Regions from separate parts of the Homo sapiens genome. Here all the other regions are linked to region 4. Evidence: promoter capture Hi-C in 16 types of primary human blood cells and fetal thymus (Javierre and others, 2016). All regions are on one chromosome and are shown on one strand. The core of a region is centred on a gene start or on the middle of the fragment in contact, and the rest is flanking DNA. Distances in the headings are between cores, read along the strand shown.

The links. The method cuts DNA at HindIII sites, captures the fragments that hold promoters and counts their contacts. A CHiCAGO score of 5 or more calls a contact.
Region 1: a fragment that was not itself captured here is called in contact with the fragment with the promoter of ETNPPL in region 4 in 1 of 17 cell types (fetal thymus); the score reaches 6.6 in fetal thymus.
Region 2: a contact is called between a fragment that was not itself captured here and the fragment with the promoter of ETNPPL in region 4, in 3 of 17 cell types (M1 macrophages, megakaryocytes and M2 macrophages). The highest score is 6.4, in M1 macrophages.
Region 3: a fragment that was not itself captured here is called in contact with the fragment with the promoter of ETNPPL in region 4 in 1 of 17 cell types (M1 macrophages); the score reaches 5.2 in M1 macrophages.
Region 5: a contact is called between a fragment that was not itself captured here and the fragment with the promoter of ETNPPL in region 4, in 1 of 17 cell types (M2 macrophages). The highest score is 5.2, in M2 macrophages.
Region 6: a contact is called between a fragment that was not itself captured here and the fragment with the promoter of ETNPPL in region 4, in 1 of 17 cell types (fetal thymus). The highest score is 7.1, in fetal thymus.
Region 7: a fragment that was not itself captured here is called in contact with the fragment with the promoter of ETNPPL in region 4 in 2 of 17 cell types (M1 macrophages and erythroblasts); the score reaches 5.7 in M1 macrophages.

What each region holds. Positions count from the first base shown.
Region 1 is chr4:108,020,036-108,022,735 of GRCh38, reverse strand. The region is part of intron 4 of HADH (hydroxyacyl-CoA dehydrogenase); the gene reads right to left. Among named protein-coding and RNA genes, the nearest start is that of HADH, 31 kb to the right of the region's middle. The HindIII fragment of the contact is 4,645 bases long and covers 1-2,700 here.
Region 2 is chr4:109,332,484-109,335,183 of GRCh38, reverse strand. No RefSeq gene overlaps it. Among named protein-coding and RNA genes, the nearest start is that of COL25A1-DT, 31 kb to the right of the region's middle. The HindIII fragment of the contact is 2,868 bases long and covers 1-2,700 here.
Region 3 is chr4:109,366,692-109,369,391 of GRCh38, reverse strand. No RefSeq gene overlaps it. Among named protein-coding and RNA genes, the nearest start is that of COL25A1-DT, 65 kb to the right of the region's middle. The HindIII fragment of the contact is 8,120 bases long and covers 1-2,700 here.
Region 4 is chr4:108,761,759-108,764,458 of GRCh38, reverse strand. It overlaps ETNPPL (ethanolamine-phosphate phospho-lyase), which reads left to right and starts at 1,406. Exons shown (of 13, transcript NM_031279.4): 1 at 1,406-1,616. The coding sequence starts at 1,561. The HindIII fragment of the contact is 7,360 bases long and covers 1-2,700 here.
Region 5 is chr4:109,311,795-109,314,494 of GRCh38, reverse strand. COL25A1-DT (COL25A1 divergent transcript) reads right to left here. Exons shown (of 3, transcript NR_160939.1): 2 at 1,054-1,152. Among named protein-coding and RNA genes, the nearest start is that of COL25A1-DT, 10 kb to the right of the region's middle. The HindIII fragment of the contact is 2,199 bases long and covers 193-2,391 here.
Region 6 is chr4:108,000,151-108,002,850 of GRCh38, reverse strand. The region is part of intron 1 of HADH (hydroxyacyl-CoA dehydrogenase); the gene reads right to left. Among named protein-coding and RNA genes, the nearest start is that of HADH, 12 kb to the right of the region's middle. The HindIII fragment of the contact is 2,945 bases long and covers 1-2,700 here.
Region 7 is chr4:109,385,648-109,388,347 of GRCh38, reverse strand. No RefSeq gene overlaps it. Among named protein-coding and RNA genes, the nearest start is that of SEC24B, 47 kb to the left of the region's middle. The HindIII fragment of the contact is 2,568 bases long and covers 146-2,700 here.

The DNA.
Region 1 (2,700 bases), core at 131-2,630, 740 kb after region 4:
ATAAATGCTGACTTCCATTATTTAATTATTAGAAGTCTGGAAGTATATGATGGTTGCCCTTAAAGTCTTCTACGTGGGACCTGATCTTCTATTATAGAGGAGGAGGAGCCCCAGGAAAGTGAGTAATTTGCCCAAGTGACAGTTCTCCTGGATTCCTGAGTATTTCTCCCATGACTCCACCCTCTGCCACACAGATGCTCTAGAGGCCAGCGGCCCCTTGGCTTCAGAACAGACTCATCCTTCTGGGGAAGGCTTTCATTTACAGCAAGCGGGGCCTGCCACCTGCTCCAGCAGCCCTCCTGACCTCTGTGAGGTACAGGCAAGGGCACAAGGGCTGCCCTACTGGCATCTGTAGGGGATGGCACCAAGCACGATGCCCGGCACAGTCAGCCCTCAGTAAGCAGTTAGAGAACTCATGTGTAATGGTAAATGGAAAGAACCAGATGAAGTATATATATATATATTTTTAAACAGGAGAGATGCGTGTTTATTCACTCATTCATTCAACTATACACACACACACACACACACACATACACACACACATACACACACACACACACACACATATATATATGTAAAATGTAAAGGCCAGTAAAGAACTTCAATCGGAGTCAAAGGGTTTACTTTAGACCCTTCATGGGATCTTAGGCAACTGCCTCACCTCTCTTCTCTGGAATGGGGATCATGGGCATGTCTTCCCTGTGCAAGAGGGCCGTCTGACTCGGTGAACTAATGAGCTAGTGTCTGTGCAGGGATGAAAGGTGCTATATAAACAAAGAAGAGTTCTCACTCCTGTTTTCGTGTGATCACAGCCTGGGCCATGGTGTCATGTCGTGACATCAAGAGAAGTGAATGGATGGAAACAGGAAAAGACACAGTGAAGATGGAGAAGAGGAGCAGGACGAGAAAGACCAGAAGCCACCCTGCGGGTACCACAAATCAAACAGAATCCCAGAGCTGTTTGAAAGGAGGTCTAAAAAGTCTCCATCAAAACCACAGACTGAGCTGGGGGACAAACACTGCTGACTATGGAGTTTTCAAATTAAGTTTTTGGTTTAAGGGAGTTAATAATAGTGAAGGTTTGTTTCTTTTTAAACAGGAGAGATGGATGTTTATTCACTCATTCATTCATTCAACGAACAGTAATTTGTACAGATACGCTGCTCCTAGTTCCAACAGAGTCTGAAAAAAAATACATATATATATACATTTAAATGAGCCCAGTCCTAAGTAAAGGAGCCACTTAGCTTATTATACAAGTTATTTTGGTGTACACCACCAGCAACACAAGGAAGAGCTAAAGTTAAACAATAAAAACTGAATAGAGAAGAACACTTTTACAAAATACTTTCTAAAAAATAGTAGCATTTGCTAAACATCAGCTGTTAACAACCAACACACTACATTTCCAAAGACAAAAGCATACATTACCAGATAAATGCAGTTGAAAACATTATTAAAGTAAATCTACAGAATGTGCCTATCTCCAAAACACTTATATATACAATATAATAACTAAAGAAATCAACTAGTCCCTAAGTACTGAAATGTTGGAAATGCATGCCACTTCTTTGCTCTTAATCTGCATGAGATAAGAGCTGTTAAATGCTGTTTCTTCTGTTCCCCAAATCCCTCCCCTTCATTCTTCAATTTCTTCAAAAAATCAGCCTTAGGGGATAGGAGAAAATAGGAGGAAGCTGAGAAGCAATGTTAGTAAGACAGAAAAAGTCCCATTGCAAGATGGTCAAAGTTGTCACTTGAGAGAAAATGCTAAAAAAAATGGTCATTATTATGACTTATTAAAAATGCTTATGCTGAGTAGTGGTGAGGGAATGAGGAGGATAAAGGAAGGAAAAGGTAGTTGGAAAAGGCAATAATGAAGAAAACAGACGATACACACTCCCAGAGAGGCCACAGCCAGTGTGTGTAGGTTTGCCTGGCCCCACATCACCCACATGGCAGCATCAGCGTCCCCCACACTTCGCAGGGCAATAACTCCTCAACCTCAGAACAAATGCTACTTTAATAGCGGCTGCTCCTCAGACCCTGTAATTAGGACCCTGTAAAAGGCAAGTTGTCCCATTTCAGGTGCAAATTGCCTACTGTGACTCCAACTCCAACATATTGGAGTCTCCAAGCATTCCAAACAGGATGCTGGGGAAGCCCTCCCTGCCTCCCCGCTCCACCTTCCAGGTTTATGGTCAGGAGGCTCAAGGCTATCAGAAGCTGGTTTTATTTTTTTACTTTTAGGGTTTTTTTATTCGATATAGGATCTTGCTCTGTCATCCAGGCTGGAGTGCAGTGGTGCAATCACAGCTCACTGCAGCCTCAACCTCCCAGGCTCAATCAATCCTCCCACTTCAGCCTTCCAAGTACTGGAGACTACATGCGTGCACCAAAACCCCTGGCTGATTTTTTATTTTTTGTAGAAATGGGGTCTTGCCATGTTGCCTAGGCTGTTCTTGAACCCCTGGGTCTCAAGCAATCCACTAACTTCCACCTCCAAAAGTTCTAGGATTACAGGCATGAGCCGCCGCACCCAATGGGAGCTGGTTTTAATAGCTCTGATCACAATGCACAGGAGATGTACCTCATCTGGGGACAACGCTAAGGCACCATTACATGGGGTCAGAATTAACCCCAGGAACTGTGGACAAGCTAGTATAGTGTATCTAATGAGAACTGCATTTACAGCAT
Region 2 (2,700 bases), core at 23-2,522, 570 kb before region 4:
GTCTCCTGCAGATGAGTTTCTATTCCTCCTGCATCTCTGAGCTAGACTACAAATTTTCCTCTAGTTCAGAATGATTAGATGATTAAATATGCCCTAAGGGCTCATGGAAGAATAGTAGAATCTGATACTCAAATTTCAACTTATAGGTAATAGGACACAATCCCTAAACCCTATTCTGAAACAGAACTCTTAGGGGTGGCTTCTCCTCTAAAGCCTCTGGCAGTAAAACTGCTGGGAAGGAACTTTCATGGACTCGCTCTCCCACAGACTATGCTGCAGGGATAGGATCAACACACAGAGGTCATAAACTTAAGTGCCTACAGGAAGGATATTTCAATGACTGACGGTGGTGGTGAGTCCTTGTGGTCTAGATTTTCTATATAGAAAAATGGGGTTAACAATGTGTGTGGAGGGGTGGGGGGTGGTGAGGCATGAAATTGAAGGCATGAAATTGAAGGCCTAAAATTAGCTCTCTGAAGAAGGGCTGGAAGCTGCATTTATGTAGCACTTTTCATTAGGTGGAGAAGGTGAACTGTGCGGGGTGTGAAGGCTGATGGTGGGGGACTGATGGGAAATGTGGTGACTGGAAGAAATGAGGCCCTCTCCAAGGAGGCAGCTTCCACTCGGCTCCAGCTGACACTTGCCAGTTGGCAATGAGGACAGTTGCCAGATATTCTGAGTTTTCAGAAGATGGAAATCCAGATTTTTTTTTTAAATGGGAAATCTCTTATTTTTAAAACACGATGTGGGCCAAACCAAACACGTTTGTGGGCTGAATTCAGTCTGTGGCCTACCATTTTGAGACCTTTGATTTATAGTCCTCACAAAACATGACATTTCTGTTCCAATTTGTAATCTCCAGGCGTGTTACTTCCAGAGTCAGTTCATTCTCTGCACTTCGCCCTCCTCCTTCACTCCTTTATTATTTATACGTATGTCTGACTCCCCCTCAAGATTATACATTCTTTTAACGACACAACTTACATTGTTTTCATTTTTGTATCTTCTCTGTGGTTTACTATAGTGCCTTAAAGAGGGTAATAGTCAGTAAGTGCTGGTTAAAGAAGTGTTTGTTAAATAATGCATTTTCAAAGCTAATCTAAGGAAACTTGAAGCTCTACTTGGGGTCCATTCACTGAAACACAGTTTGCCAAAAACCAACTATCTGAAAGCCAATTGGGGATTTCCACTTCCAGTAATAGTCAACTATAATTCAGTCCAACCCTCATACAAAATATATCCAGAAAAAATATAGAAAACATCTTGTTAGTAATATGAAATGCCTAAGAAAACTGGGAAGAATTGCCTTGAGAGAATAGAGTGATTGTAAGAGCAGAAATTGGTGAACTGGTAAATGTTTTATCCTGGGGGTATTTGCCATCCTTAGGAGGTGAAGAAAACAAGGAGATTAATAAATGGGGTAGGGCTGGAGAACAAGACAGAGACCCTGGAGACCTACCCACCTTTCTTCCCATGTCCTTGGCGCTCTCCTTCCCCAGCTTTGTATCTTTGACCTATTTGGGGAAACTGAGCAGTGCTTTGGGCTTTAGAATGGCAGGAATAGAAGCTCAGAAACATCTAAGCTCAGAAACTGCTGTGACATACCCTTTCCCTGGGACAGGCTGGTGGCCTAGGTTTCCTTATTCAGCTTCCTTTCCTTGTAACTCACTCTGATAAGGCTAGTCCTAAGTGAAATGACTCCTGAATCTATGGTTAATGCAGCTGTTCAAAGCTATGCAAAGTGTGCTGAGCATTATCTGAGGCAGTACCACCCTTATTCTCCAGGCCTGTCCTTTCCAGAGCCCCTGTTTAGACCCTCCTCCAGCGATTCTCCTCCTCACAGAGTGAAGACTCCACTGGGCCAAGGGCATATGCCCACCCAGTTCCAGTGCTGTACTCTCTTCCCAACCCCAGCCATGCTCAACATACTGGACAGTGGAATTCCCTGTCAAATAGTGCCAAGCCCCATTTCATAGGCCTCCACCTTCTTCAGGCTCATCCTCCAAAGGGTATAACTTACCACTGGGGTGTGCATCCTTTGGCCCCAGAGGGCGCTACAGGGCAGGCTGTGTGTGTTTGTGTGAAATGGGGGTAGAGAGGTGTGGACAAAGTTTGCCTATGAGGTTGAGTACCCACAAGACCCCACATGATGTTTGATTATAGGACCCAAAACAGGTTACTGAAAAGAAGCAAACTATCAGTCATCCTGGGAGCTTTATGAAGCTGGGGCTGTGTAAGGTTCTCTGTGTGGGATTTGTTACTATGATATACCAGAGTAGCCAAGTCATGATGACAAAACTGTACCTAACACCAGTCCTATTGTAAGGTTTGGATTACCAAATCAAAGAAAGTTCTTTTTCAGGTGCCAGATGTGTAATAGATGCTATAATAGGTGGCCTGGAAGACTTAATTAATGAGGCAGTTCAAATATATAGCCTGTCTGGATCTCTGCCTATAGCCCATTGTACCCACTGCCAGGCCCCTCCTGATGCCATGCTCCATCCACTAGCAGAGATTTCCATGCAGTACTTATTTCTAGGAATTTACTTAATCACATCTTAGATCCAGACACTTTAGTGACAAGAGTAATAATACGGACACCATGTTAGCAATGAGCTAAATATACTATTAATTATAATAAGTGATGTCTCAAAAAGTGAGATCTCAAAATATCCTTTGAGATGTCAACATGCTCCAGAA
Region 3 (2,700 bases), core at 38-2,537, 610 kb before region 4:
ATTGACATGCATATTATATAGCAGCATTGTCTTTCCTACTATAGAAAAAAGTCTATACTTATGATATATAATTATATATTAGCTTTTTATTTATGAGAAATAGAAAATTTTTTGACATGATTTTGTATAAATTATAACTGTGAACATCCCTCTTTTATTATTCTTTCTCTCTTTTTTGGTTTACTGGAAAAATAAAATCCACATTCAGTGATTTGAATAAGCAAACAATTTCTAAGAATATCTGTCATGGCTGTTCATAGTACTGCACAGCTGTTATTTTATTTAAATACCACAATTTTTAAGAGACACCGTCATTGTGGGACATATGATGCATGCATGGTATATAGCTGTTCTAGAAAGAGTCAAGGCAAATCCCATTTTTATGGCTTTAGTTTTTAAATCCCAGGAAGACTTTATAGAAAGAGACTGACAAGAGGGACAGGTGGATATTGGCTCCAACTTGGTGACAAGTTTTCAACCTCAGCTGCATTCTTACGACAGGGGAGTGAAGAGCAGCTGGCAGCCTGGGAGCCTCTGTTCTACAGATGGAATTCTTGTGGCAGAGAGAAGAATGTTCTAGCTGGCTCCTCATGCTTAATGAACAAAGAGCACAACTTAAGAGATTGAAGCTACTGTTTGATCTAAACAGTGGAGTCCCACTCCCTCTTTCTTCCTCGTCACATCTTTCGTATTACAGTTCTAGTGATTTATGTTTAGAAAAGAATATAAAGTTTCCCAGATTACTATTAGTCACTGATGTCTCGAATTCAATATATTCTTTTAAAGCCCATTTTTTACAATTGTGAGATTTGGGGCAAGAATATAAATAGAGGCCCGCAGATCATATATCTAAATATTTCCAAGTTATAAATCAAGTGATCAAATTGTTCAGTAAGAGATGTTCTTTCTCTTAACCTGGTGTTTCCTACCAGAGCATGGAGGCATGGGGAGAGCCAGGCCCTGTCTCCTCCATGGCTGGCTGCATCTTACATGGCGAGGGGCTTCCTGTGTATGTGTGGACACCCCAATTCACATACCCAGGCACCAACCACACTTCCTCGCTGACAGCTGCCACTTGATCACCTTTAGGTCTAGAAACTCTGGAAGCAGGTTGAGGACTATTTGGGCAAGGAATTCTGGGGTCCTAGAATTCAGAAATGGTCCCGAAGGGTGGGGGGTGTAGCCTCTGAGTGGGCACAGGAGACTGCAACATGGGGAAGAGTGGGGCCCTCTACAGCATGGGGCTTAGGACAAGGGTCGGTTCACCTGGGTCTAAGAGTGATACTTTTCTTTTTAAACCTCAATGTATACAATATTGTTCCCTCCATAGCCAGGTAGGAAGGAGAACTTTGTGGTCAACTTCTAAGTTCTCCATTTAATTAAAAATTATTAAAGCCAGTATTATTTACCTGGTGTTTATGGTCCATCTGCTCTCAAACTAGAATGGTTTCAGTAAGCACCAGGTACACCCTTACGGCATACTTTACCATATAAAGTATGCAACCTGGGGGTTTGACATGACCACTCTTCCCCTGAATTTCTATAGCATTTGGAAGGGTAACTGCAACTGTGGAATGACCTCCTTCTAGTTATATTTGAAAGAACTTTGGTCTGAAAGGTAAATGGCAACCATTATTCTAATCCTATAAATAAGGTAACTTGGCAAATCTTTTCGCTTTATGGTTATTTCAAATACACAATAAACTAGGAAAGGAGCCAGCAGCAGATGAAAGAGTTCTACCTGTGCTTATAAATCAGTGAAATATGAATTGAGGTAGAAAATGAAAGATCTGAATAATATTGCCTTTTGGTCCATCTCAGAGAGATTCAAATGAAAGTGCACAGGAAGGAATACCTATTTGCATTATTCACAGTATCCCCTGTAAATTAGTGGCATGATGTAGGTGGAACCCGTATAGTATAAGTAGGAACGCTAATGTTACATAGGTTTTTACTTTAAGGTCCAGGGGGACTCAGCCAAGTGGAAAAATAGCAGAGTTATGGTGGAAACCAGTCACCTTGTTAAAACTGAATAACCAGGTGTTTGGGAAAAGAATGGTATGAGAGACTGGTTTCTTCCCTGCTGAACACAGTCATTCAGTGTGAACACAGAGAGAAGGAATCTTTGTTACAAGCATAGAGGAAGATAAAAATGTGTGTATTTCAATGTTTGAAAACTAACCTGTGTCACAAGTCCATTTTGGGTTTCATAATATAATCAAGGAGAGCTACGTTTTGAGCTATAATTATGCTATATTTCCTGGAATAACCTTATTTGGGGTGTTTCAACACATGGTCTATAGCAATTCAAACTGGAATGCATTTGTGCATAGGTGCAGGATATATTCATTTTTTCTATGTGATTTTCATTTTAAAGAAAAGTGAATTTTAGAAACTAAGGTACATGGATCACTCTCATTTCAAAATAAAAAGCCTTGGTGAGTATGTTATGATAGTGGATGAGAAAAGTTCGGAGTAATATTCTTGGCTTTAAAAAACCAGTGTTACCAAAAACATTCACAAAATTTGACCTGAAAATATAAAGAATTATATTCATAATGAATTATATTCATAAATACAAAATAAATACTCTTCAGTGGTTTCCTATTGCTTTTAAGATAAAACCCTGCATGATCTGGCCCCTCTCTGCCTATCCAGCCTCATTCACCAAATGAGGGAAACTTCTCTCTCCCTGCTCTG
Region 4 (2,700 bases), core at 157-2,656:
ATTACAGGCGTGAGTCACGGCGCCTGGCCTAAAATCTGGAATTAACACACTGTTCCTCATAGGACTCCATTTCTCTTTCTACCTTAGGCAATCCAATTCTACTCCTCCTGCAGTGCATGAATATATATTAATAACTTTTTTCAAGAGAAAGATCAGTTGCAAATACTTATCAAATGTGTTGATACATGCAAATTAGGCTTTCCCTGCTGCCCTTTCAAAACACAGAGAGAATAAAATGACCTATCCTTAACCCAATGACTAAGTGTTTGTGTGAACTTGAATAAACCTTCACCTTTCCTGTGCCTCACTGTTCTTATCTACAGAGCAGAGAAGTTAAACCAGATGACTTCTAGTTAAAATAATGTATGATTTAATGATTCAGTTAATTAAGATTCTATTGGGAGGCCGAGGCGGGGGGATCACGAGGTCAGGAGATCGAGACTATCCTGGCTAACATGGTGAAACCCCATCTCTACTAAAAATACAAAAATTAGCCGGGCGTAGTGACGGGCGCCTGTAGTCCCAGCTACTCGGGAGGCTGAGGCAGGAGAATGGCGTGAACCCGGGAGGCGGAGCTTGCAGTGAGCCGAGATTGCGCCACTGCACTCCAGCCTGGGTGACAGAGCCAGACTCCATCCTCAAAAAAAAAAAAAAAAAAAAAAAAAAAAAAAAAGTTTCTACCTGTGCACATATTTAGCTTCAGATATGATCTGTGTGAGAAGACCATCTTGAAGGAAGTCAAGAAATCTAAGAATGAGTCCCGTTTTCAGCATCAAGTGGATATATAATCATTAGAACAGGGAATAACCTCACTTTCCCCGTTCATTAAATGGGGTAACACTCGTGGTCATCTCTCAGGGTTGTTTTGAAGACTGAACAAGATAAGTCATGTGAATGTGTTTTGTAAGTTGTATAGTTAGAGGAATTAGAAGTGTAATCATTGTTAAAGGAGATGTTTGAAACACTGCATATATCATCACTGCCAATGGAGATAACAGGCTGAGTCCGGGTTATTTCTCGTTAGGACGCGTCCTTGTGCTGAGTAAATGGTAGGTTACCTTATCAGACTGCGCAGTGAGTCTTGATCCGGGAAGCGCCTAACTCCTGAATTTTTACCAGAAAATAAAGGACTACACTAAAAAGAAACCAGAAAGAACGTGGGAAGGAGGGAATTCGCAGGCAGAGGAGGAGGAAAAGCAAAGACGAGGCAAAGTTAGGAGAATGAAAGGCGAATTCAGAGGAATGATAGGGGCGGGTAGGGCCGAGCCGGCCTGGCAGGACAGGGTGGTGGCGAATGAGCTGCTAGCCCGGCGACCTGCCCGCGGCCCCGGCGGGGGAGGAGGAGGGGCTTGGCAAAGGGCAACGCCAGAGCCAGACTTAAAAGGGAGATGATCCTAGCTAGTTGACGCCACCGGTGACCTCCGACGCCCCGGGCAAGAGAACGCCAGGAGGGATAACGGGAGGAAGGCCGGCCGGGGCCGCCAAGGCAGTCCCAGGCTCGCGTAGGAGGCGCGCAGACCTTGCACCTTGCACCTTCGCAGCGCCCTGCACCCCGCCACCATGTGCGAGCTGTACAGTAAGCGGGACACTCTGGGGCTGAGGAAGAAGCACATCGGGTAAGGGCACCCTGGCCCGGAAGTAAGTGCAGAGAGGGGGCAATAACGAGTGCAGAAGGTGGAGAGAGAAAGCCGGCTAGGGAACAAACGATGCGCTGCAGCCGCACTCCGTGCCCGCCGCGCCTGTGCACGCGCCCCGCGCGCCTCCACCTGCAGGGGCCGCGCGGACTCCCAGAAACGCTCCTGGAACCCGGAACGCTGGGCTTCCTGCCCGCTCGAAAGTCCCCGGCTCGCTCTGCAGCCGGCGGACTAGCGGGGGCTGCCGGCCGGCTAGAGGGGTTGGTGGATGACGGCCAATAGCCCTAGCAGACACCATTCCAGGGATGGGAGATGGGTGGAAGAAGGATAGCGCTCCGCCACCCCCACACAACTCGAAAGTTTTTGGAAACTGTGAACTGAGAAATATTTTTTCATGATGGCTCCGCAAACAAACCAATTCTGACAATTTTTACTTAAAGTGAGCTTTTTCTTCTTGCATGCTTGGTTAAGTGATGAAGGGTTTATCTAGCCAATAGAAAAACTTGAAACCACCTTCTGTTAGAAAAGCAGAGACTTTATTTAGATCCCTCTTACCCAACTTGCTCTCCCAAGCTGTGTTCTTCCCAGCCTGCTTGTCTTGCCCCCGTCACAAACGACTTAGTAATATAAAGGTGAGTATATAAGACCGACAGGGGCTCTAGCTCTCGTTGGATGTCATATTCCCTGTGTGGACCTCTGTCAAATTAATTGTCTCTTCTATGAAAGTAGGAATAACATTCTACTTCACAGGAGCAAGAAGATGAGATTAATATGTTAGTGTTTTGTGCGTGGTTTTTAAAAAGATACGTGTAAATATAAATGATGATTAATGACCCCGAATACTGTAAAGTCAACCGTCTGCAATATTCACTTGAAATGAACGACTGCAGCCGGGCCAGTGGGCATGAGAGAGCACTTGGGGTTACAAGGAAGAAAACAATCCGCATCCTCTTCGGAGGAATGCTGGACAGTTTCTCAGACTGAAGCTCCTCACCCCAACTGGAGGGGTTTCTGGGTGGTTTGGAAGACTAGTTCCATCTCTCTCAGCCGCTAAGTGGGATCAAAA
Region 5 (2,700 bases), core at 43-2,542, 550 kb before region 4:
CCTAGTACTGGTGCCATGGATGGGCTGGTGGTGTCTACATCATGGATATGAACATCACCTCCACCCATGAAGTGGGAAGGCCTAATTGGCAGGGATAGTCATTCTTACCTGTGCTGTGCCCTAGCCTTTTGCTGTTGACTGCCTCTTGGTCCCTCAAATCTAGTTTTCTTTATAGGGCTCCAAATCGAAGCTTGGAAAATACAATGGAGTAATACTAAGGTGAAGGTGTGGAACCAGATCCTCCTCAAACAAAGGAAAGAAAGGGAATCCTGGGAATTGGGGACCTGGCCTAATAAGATGCCTCCCAAAAGGAAAACATTAATCCCTTGCATGGAAAAGCTCCTTGTATTCGCAGGATTATGTTGACTCTGACAGGGTGGAAAAAAGCAATTTAAATGCAGAGGAGGGAAGGTGGCTGGGGGAAATAGCCTCTTGTTCTGTGGTAATGAGTTTCTTCAACAGGGGAAAGAAAACTCTCTTAATTGTTACATCCCTCTATTTCTAAGAATAGACAGAAGCAACATTGTTCTGGATTACACTCCTGATGACTAAGCCAAGTCCTCATTCTATCCAGTAATAGTATCTCTTTTCGTTGCAAAAACACCGGTAACATTGTCTATAAATAGGGGATAGCAGTCAGGACACTCTTGAAAGAAAGAAAATTAGATAGGAAGGACTGAAAGCCTTGGCCTGGCACCTGAATGGGCTGTGGGGGATTGGAGCTGGTCCAGGAGTCTTCAGGTAACACCAAAGTGTGCCTTGGCCAGATACCTTCAGTTGTTCAGGACTTTATTCCAACCTACGTAATGGCTAGACTTCCAGGAAAGGAAACTGGATTGGAACAAGGCCAACATTCCCAACACCCAAGGATGAAGGGGGACTGACAATGTCCTCCCGAGCAAGTCTGTCCTCTGAGTCTTGTAGATTGGCAGTTGGTCTATTCACCCTTAACTGTCTAACAGAGACTTGGTGTTTTATCTGTTTTCGAAAAAAAAGTGAGGATGAGAGTCCTCAGAAATGAAAGTAAAGGGTCACAGGTCTGCTCTTACTCACCCTTCTGAAGACCTGGACGAGCCTCCAGAAATGTTGCAGCTTCTTTACTCCCATAGTTCGGTGAGTGAGAGGGAGTGGCTCCCAGTGGCTTCTTCACTCCTGTAGTTTGGCGAGAGGGAGAGAGTGGCACCAATCAACTTCTTTACTCCCGTAGTTCAGCGAGTGGGAGGGAGCGTTACTGCTCTTTCACTCCTGCAGTTTGGTGAGTTCTGAGTTCTTGTCTAATGACCAAGAGGAGTGAGGTACATGGACATTGGAGAGTGAGTAAGGCAGAGTTGAATTTTATTGAGTGACAGAAAGAAAGCCCTCAGCAAGAGGGGACCCAAAAGTAGACTGCCATCAGTGAGGCTGAGTCCAGGGTTTTTATGGGCTTAGAATAGGGGAACGTGTGCTGATTGGTTTATGGGTGGGCTTGGAAAAGACACCATTCAATTGGTTAAAAGGCATCATTCAGAAAGAACCTATTGAGAGACAGTGGATAAGGTGGGGATGGAAGTTCTCACTCAGATCTGTGGCTTCTATCCTGAATTAGTAGCTCAGTTTTCAGGCTTTAGACTGTCTTTGGCTTGAAGGTTGAGTTTCACCAAGGACCCATCCTGTCTGCCTAGAAATTTGTCTATCTCCTGTGGCTATCACAGCCAAGGTTGTGGAGAAAAAGGAACATTAATACACTGTTGTTGGGAGTGTAAATTAGTTCAACCATTGTGGGAGACAGTGTGGTGATTCCTCAAACACCTAAAGACAGAAATACCATTTGACCGAGTAATCCCATTACTGGGTATATAACTACAGAAATATATATTGTTCTATTATAAAAAAATTCATGTGTATGTTAATTGCAGCACTATTCACAATAGCAAAGACATGGAATCAACTTAAATGCCCATCAATGATAGACTGGATAAAGAAAACATGATACAAATACACCATGGAATACTATTCAGCCACAAAAAAGAATGAGATCATGTCCTTTGCAGGGACATGGATGGAGTTGGATGCCTAACCTTAGTAAACTAATATGGGAACAAAAAATCAAATGCTGCCTGTTCTCACTCATAACTGGGAGCTAAATAATGAGAGTATAGGACATATAGCGTGGAACAACACACATTGAGGCCTACTAGAGGGTGGAGGGTGGGATGGAGGAGAGGATTTGGAAAAATACTAATGGACATTAGGCTTAATACCTGGGTGATGAGATAATCTTTACAATAAACTCCTGTGACATAGTTTACCTATGTAACAAACCTGCACATGTACCCCTGAACTTAAAATAAAAGTTAAAAATGTTTATTGGCTGTTTTTTATTTTTCACTTATAAAAGTGCTTATTTAAGCTTTTGCTAATTTTTTTTATTAGGTTGTCTGATGCTTTTTCGCATTGATTTGCAAGAATTCTTATACATTCTAGATAATAGTCTTTTCTCATTTCTATATTTTGCAAATATCTTTTCTCATTCTTTGTCTTGTATTTCAATCATTTTAAGTTTTTTTAATAAACAGAAGATCTTGATTTAATATATTCCAATTTATCAATCATTTCCTCTGTGGCTAGCTCTTTACGTATATTATTTAGAAAACCCTGCCTCAATCCAAGGTCATGATTACATTCTCCTTTATTATCTTTTAAATGCTTTATGCAAGGGAT
Region 6 (2,700 bases), core at 166-2,665, 760 kb after region 4:
ATTCCTAAACTCTAGTAATATGGCTTATTTCAGTCTGTTAGTGCTGCTATAACAAAATACCAAAGACTGGGTAATGTATAAACAACAGAGATCAAGATCATCAGCATGTTCAGTGTCTGGTGAGGGCTGTTCTCTGCTTCCAAGATGGTGCCTTGCTGCTGCATGCTCTGGAGCAAAGGTCCCCAACCTTTTTTGGCACCAGGAAGACATGGGAGACAATTTCACGGAAGACAATTTTTCTACCGTCTTGCAGGGAAGAGGGGATGGTTTAGGGATGATTCAAGTGCATTACATTGATTGTGCACTTTATTTCTATTATTATTACATTGTAATATATAATGAAATAATTATACATCTCACCACAATACAGAATTAGTGGGAGCTCTGAGCTTGTTCTGCTGCATCTAGATGGTGCCATGTGGGGATAATGGGAGACAGTGACAGATCATCAGGCATTAGATTCTCACAAGGACACGAAACCTAGATCCCTCACATGCACAGTTCACAATAGGATTCATGCTCCTATGAGAATCTAATGCAACTCTTGATCCAACAGGAGGCAGAGCTCAGGTAGCAATGCAAGTGATGGGGAGCAGCTGTAAATACAAATGAAGTCTTGCTAGCTGCTCACATCCTTCTATGTGGCCCGGTTCCTAATGGGCCACGGACCAGAAGTTGGGGACCCCTGCTCTGGAGGGGACGAGCACTGTGTCCTCATATGGCAGAAGGGAGAAGAGGCAAAGTTGGTCTCTCAAGCCCCTTTAAATGGCACTAAGCTGTTCATGAATACAGAACCCTCATGACCTAATCACCTCCTAAAGGCCTTATCTCTTAATACTGCTGCACTGGGGATTCAGCTTCGACATAAATTTTGGAGGGAACACAAACATTCCTATCAGAGTAGCTTCTTCCACCACCACTGCTGCATGAAATTAGATACAGTTGGTCCCCCCTTTATCTGTGGTTTTACTTTCTGTAGTTTCAGTTACCAACAGTCAACTATGGTCCAAAAATATTAAATGGGAAATTATAGAAATAAATGATGCATGTTTTAAATTGCATGTCATTCTGAGTAGTGTGATGCAATCTTGAATTGTCCTGTCTGGGAGGAGACTCATCCCTTGGTCCAGCATATCCACACTGTATACTACCCAATCCATTAGTCACTTGGTAGTTGACTGGGTTATCAGATCAAAAAGACATAGTATGTATAGGATTTGGTACTATCTGCAGTTTCACGCATCCACTGAGGGTCTAGGAATGTACTCCCTCCCCTCGTAAGGGGGGACTACTGTAACTTATCAATGGTCTACTAAATTGCTAAAGTCAATGCCTGTTCTTTGGCTTCATCTTCTACAACAGCTCTGTACATTGCCAATAAAAGTTTCATTTTTGAAACTCTTCAGTTTCTTATCTGTCTGTTCCTTTTAGCCATATTAATTGACCTCTCTTGATCTTCTAAGCCTATAAACAAGGACTTCCTTCAAGGTTCTGTTTCCAATATAATTTCCTTCTGAAATTCCAATCGTTCTCATACTTCCAACTGTGCCTGAAACCAAAATAATCTATCTAAGCTGCAGTTATCACCTTGACCCTAAAATCAATTCTCCTTGGCCTTCATTACTGGTACCACTATTCTGTAGGTCACCATTTTCTGGACAACACTTTTTCCTTAATCCCAACCATTAACTGCTGTCCAGAAATGTTCTATCCATTATTCAGGCCCATTTCAAATGCTACCCTCTCCATGAAGCCTTTTTCCAAATGAATGTACTTTCTATTTTGAAACCTCAGAACTAGATTTTTACTGCTCTTATTGTACTACTTTACACCAAAGTAAACTGTGTCATTTAGATCTCTGTCTAATCTCTGCTCTTAGATTTAAAATCCCTTAATGGCAGAAATTGATTTGGTCTTTGTAGCCCTTAGTACTTATCACATGCCTTGAATATGATAGCTGGTCAATAACTGCTAAATAACAAATGCTTTGGACGGTAGTAACCCGATTCTGTAGTCTTCCCCAGCCACACCACACGTCTCCCTCCTCTGTGCTATCTCATGGCTCTGTGCCCTTGTTCATGTGGTTTCCTCTGCCATACATGTCCGGCTCCCTCATTGCTGCTTCATGGACTTCAACTTACCCTTCATAATCTAACATGGACACCATCTCTCCTTTAGTGAAACTTCTCCCAACCCTTAGTAGAGGTAATCACTTCTTTTGTGCCTCTAGTGATTTGCAGATACAGCAGATCTTTTGTGCAGGAATTCAAATACTGAAAGAAAATAACTGGGTGTGGCGCTGGTGTGAACCACCAATGGCTGCTCAGTTATGTAATGGCAGCCCAGTCCCCAGGATGTGAACAGAACAGAGAAATAAAAACTTAACTGGTTATAGACTATTTCATGTCATAAGAATCTCACCGATTTCAGAATAAAAGTTATTAACCAACCAGAGCATAGGAGAAATCCCAGATGTGAAAGATGAATGATACACTTGAAATAGAAAAGCTAACCATACCAACCTTTTCTTCTTTAAAAAACTGATATGTAATAGCTGTACATACTTTTGGGGTACATGTGACATTTTGATACCTGCCTAAAATGTGTAATGATCAAATCAGGGTAACTGGGATATCCAACACCCTAAACACTTATCTTCTCTTTGCCAACACCAACTTTAGATGATGAAATCAAGATAGT
Region 7 (2,700 bases), core at 180-2,679, 620 kb before region 4:
GTTAATTCACTTAAGAAACACTGATTGAATGCCAACTACCTGCCCAATTCTGTTTTAGATTTGCAGGATTTAAAAATGAATAACAGAGAGGACTTTTTCTCAATGAGTTCATAGTATGGGTGTATATGGGTGAAGGGGAGAAGCTTGGGTGGAGTGCAAGTAAGCAGAAAATTGTATTACCTTATGGCAATTGCTATAGTGATTTTTATTTTCTACTGTGATTTTGTAGTGGGGTTCAGAAGGTTGGCAGCTGGCTTTTGGATTAACACCTCTAGTAAAGTAAAGGAAAATCTATAGGTACTTAAAAATCAAATCAAAATTATTGACAGGCTCAGGGAAAATGCCGGCTTCAGCCCTGAGTGGCCACAGTCCCTCTAATAAATTCCAGTCTTCTTTATGGAATTGGTTAACCCCTTTATTAAGACCTCTCTTGCTTATTTGTCTTCTTGTATTGATATTTGGACCCTGTATACACAATACTATACCTCAAATTGTTTCTTCTCGCCTAGAAGCAAACTCCAAATGGTTCTGTAAACTAACTACACATGGACATGCCATTCTTCGGAGGACCCTTAGATCCACCCTAGGAGGAGCCCTAGCTGCTGTTCCCCATTTGATGCCCCTTTTCAGCAGGAAGTAGCCAGAAGGAGTCGTTGCCCAAAACCCCCTAACAGCAGTTAGTGTGGCATCTCCACATGGGGGAATGTTGTAGGAGTTATTAAGAAATTATTTTAGGCAGATAGACAGGAAAAGGGGTCCTTGGGAAGTTTTCTTTTTTGTTTTTTCTTTTTTGTTTTGAGATGGAGTTTCCCTCTTGTTGCCCAGGCTGGTGTGCAATGGCACGATCTTGGCTCACCACAACCCCTGCCTCCCAGGTTCAAGCGATTCTCTTGCCTCAGAGTTAAGAGAATCTCTTGCCTCAGCCTCCCGAGTAGCTGCCTGGGATTACAGGCATGCACCACACCTGGCTAATTTTGTATTTTTAGTAAAGACGGGGGTTTCTCCATGTTGGTCAGGCTGGTCTTGAACTCCCGACCTCAGGTGATCCGCCTGCCTCAGCCTCCCAAAGTGCTGGGATTACAGGCGTGAGCCACCGTGCCCAGCCCTAAGTTTTCCTTTTTTTAAAGCATCTCCGCAAAAGTTTCTTGTAAAGCCCTGGCTCTAGAGCCAGGCTGGCAACCTTTGATATGCAAACGCCAGCCATTAGAAACTGGGTCCACCCAAACATGGCGATTCCAGTGGCCTTCTTGCCCTTTCCCCACATGTTTTTGGCAACATGGCCGCCCCCACGTATCCCCACGTGTGTAGAACGTCACGGTGCCCTGCATTTGTATATTAAAAGGCTAGGGCAGGAGGGCCAGCTTTTTCGCGGGCTATGTGAATGACATGCCTAGTCAAACCAATCCCATGGACCCTATGCAAATCAGACACCGCCTCCTGCAGCCTCTGTATGTACACCTAGCTGGTATCTGTGGCAGGTGGGGTTCCCTCTCTCGGCTTTGGAGCCCCCCTCCCTCTGTCTCTGTACAGGGGAGCTTCTTCCTTCTCCCTTCCTTCTTGCCCCTTCTTGCCTGTTAAATTCGCCTCTCGTTAAATTAAAAAAAAAAAAAAAAAAAAAAGAGGTTGGCAGCTGTGCTGCCACTAACATTTCTGGGGGCTGGGGAGGGGGGATTTTGAGAGATGGTTCTGTTGCTGTGTATAAGTGTTGTGGGTCAGAGACTTAAGGAACAAAAAGAGTTATGCTGTCTCCTGGAATTCTAAAATTCTGGGGCAGTGAATTCTCAGGCATGACCATAAGGTGGAAGAGAGTCTGTAATAATCATTGTCAGTGCCTGGCCTATTTCCTTTCTGGCTTGTCATTGTAATTCACTACTATTGCTGGCTTCTGACAACCTGATCAAGGTATCCTCTGGCAACATGGGCAGGCTGGGTAAGCCAGGAATCTAATGACCCCTTCCCAGACCCCCAGCCCCACCAGTAACTGATGGGAGGAGGTGTATGTGTCCCAGTTCTTTCACTTCTCTGGTGGGATAACTCTGAGACTTGACACGCAGAGTTTCAGAGAGCAATTAAGTTCCAGTTGCCCAGAGTGGGTGACACAGCCAGAGTGAAAACACATCTTAATTAGCTGACTTTTCTTCCTCGTGTCTCATTTCTTTCTTTCTTCATTGGGATGACATCCAAATCAACTGCAGCACTCAAAACTTTGTTTCAGAATCTGCTCTAAGGGGAACCTGTCTTTGCAAAAAATTGTTCACTGACATCCTGGCTGAAAACTAACTCAGCTGGTGGAAGTTTTTGGATGATCCTAGACAGCTGGTAAGGGTGGTCTTTATCAACCCCTCTTCTCAACTAATCCAATTTTTTTTCTCTCCTGAGCCTAAATAAGATAAAGAATGTCCAAAGGTGAATGGCTGTGGATAAATATTCATGTTCTCAGCCTTACCCATAGACTCCTGCTGACCTAGGCTGATTTTCAGGTTTGTTATGTGTAATTGGGTAAATTCCATAATGTGTAAGTTTGCCCTCTTGGCTATAAATATAAATAGGTCTGGAGTGGGCCAGTCTATGAGTTGACTTACATGAGGCATTCATTCATTCATTCATTCAAAAAATACTTATTATGTGCCAAGCCCTATACCAGGCATTGTGAATGTAGCATTAAACAAGGTAGATTTAAACTCATCCTTTATTAGGCTT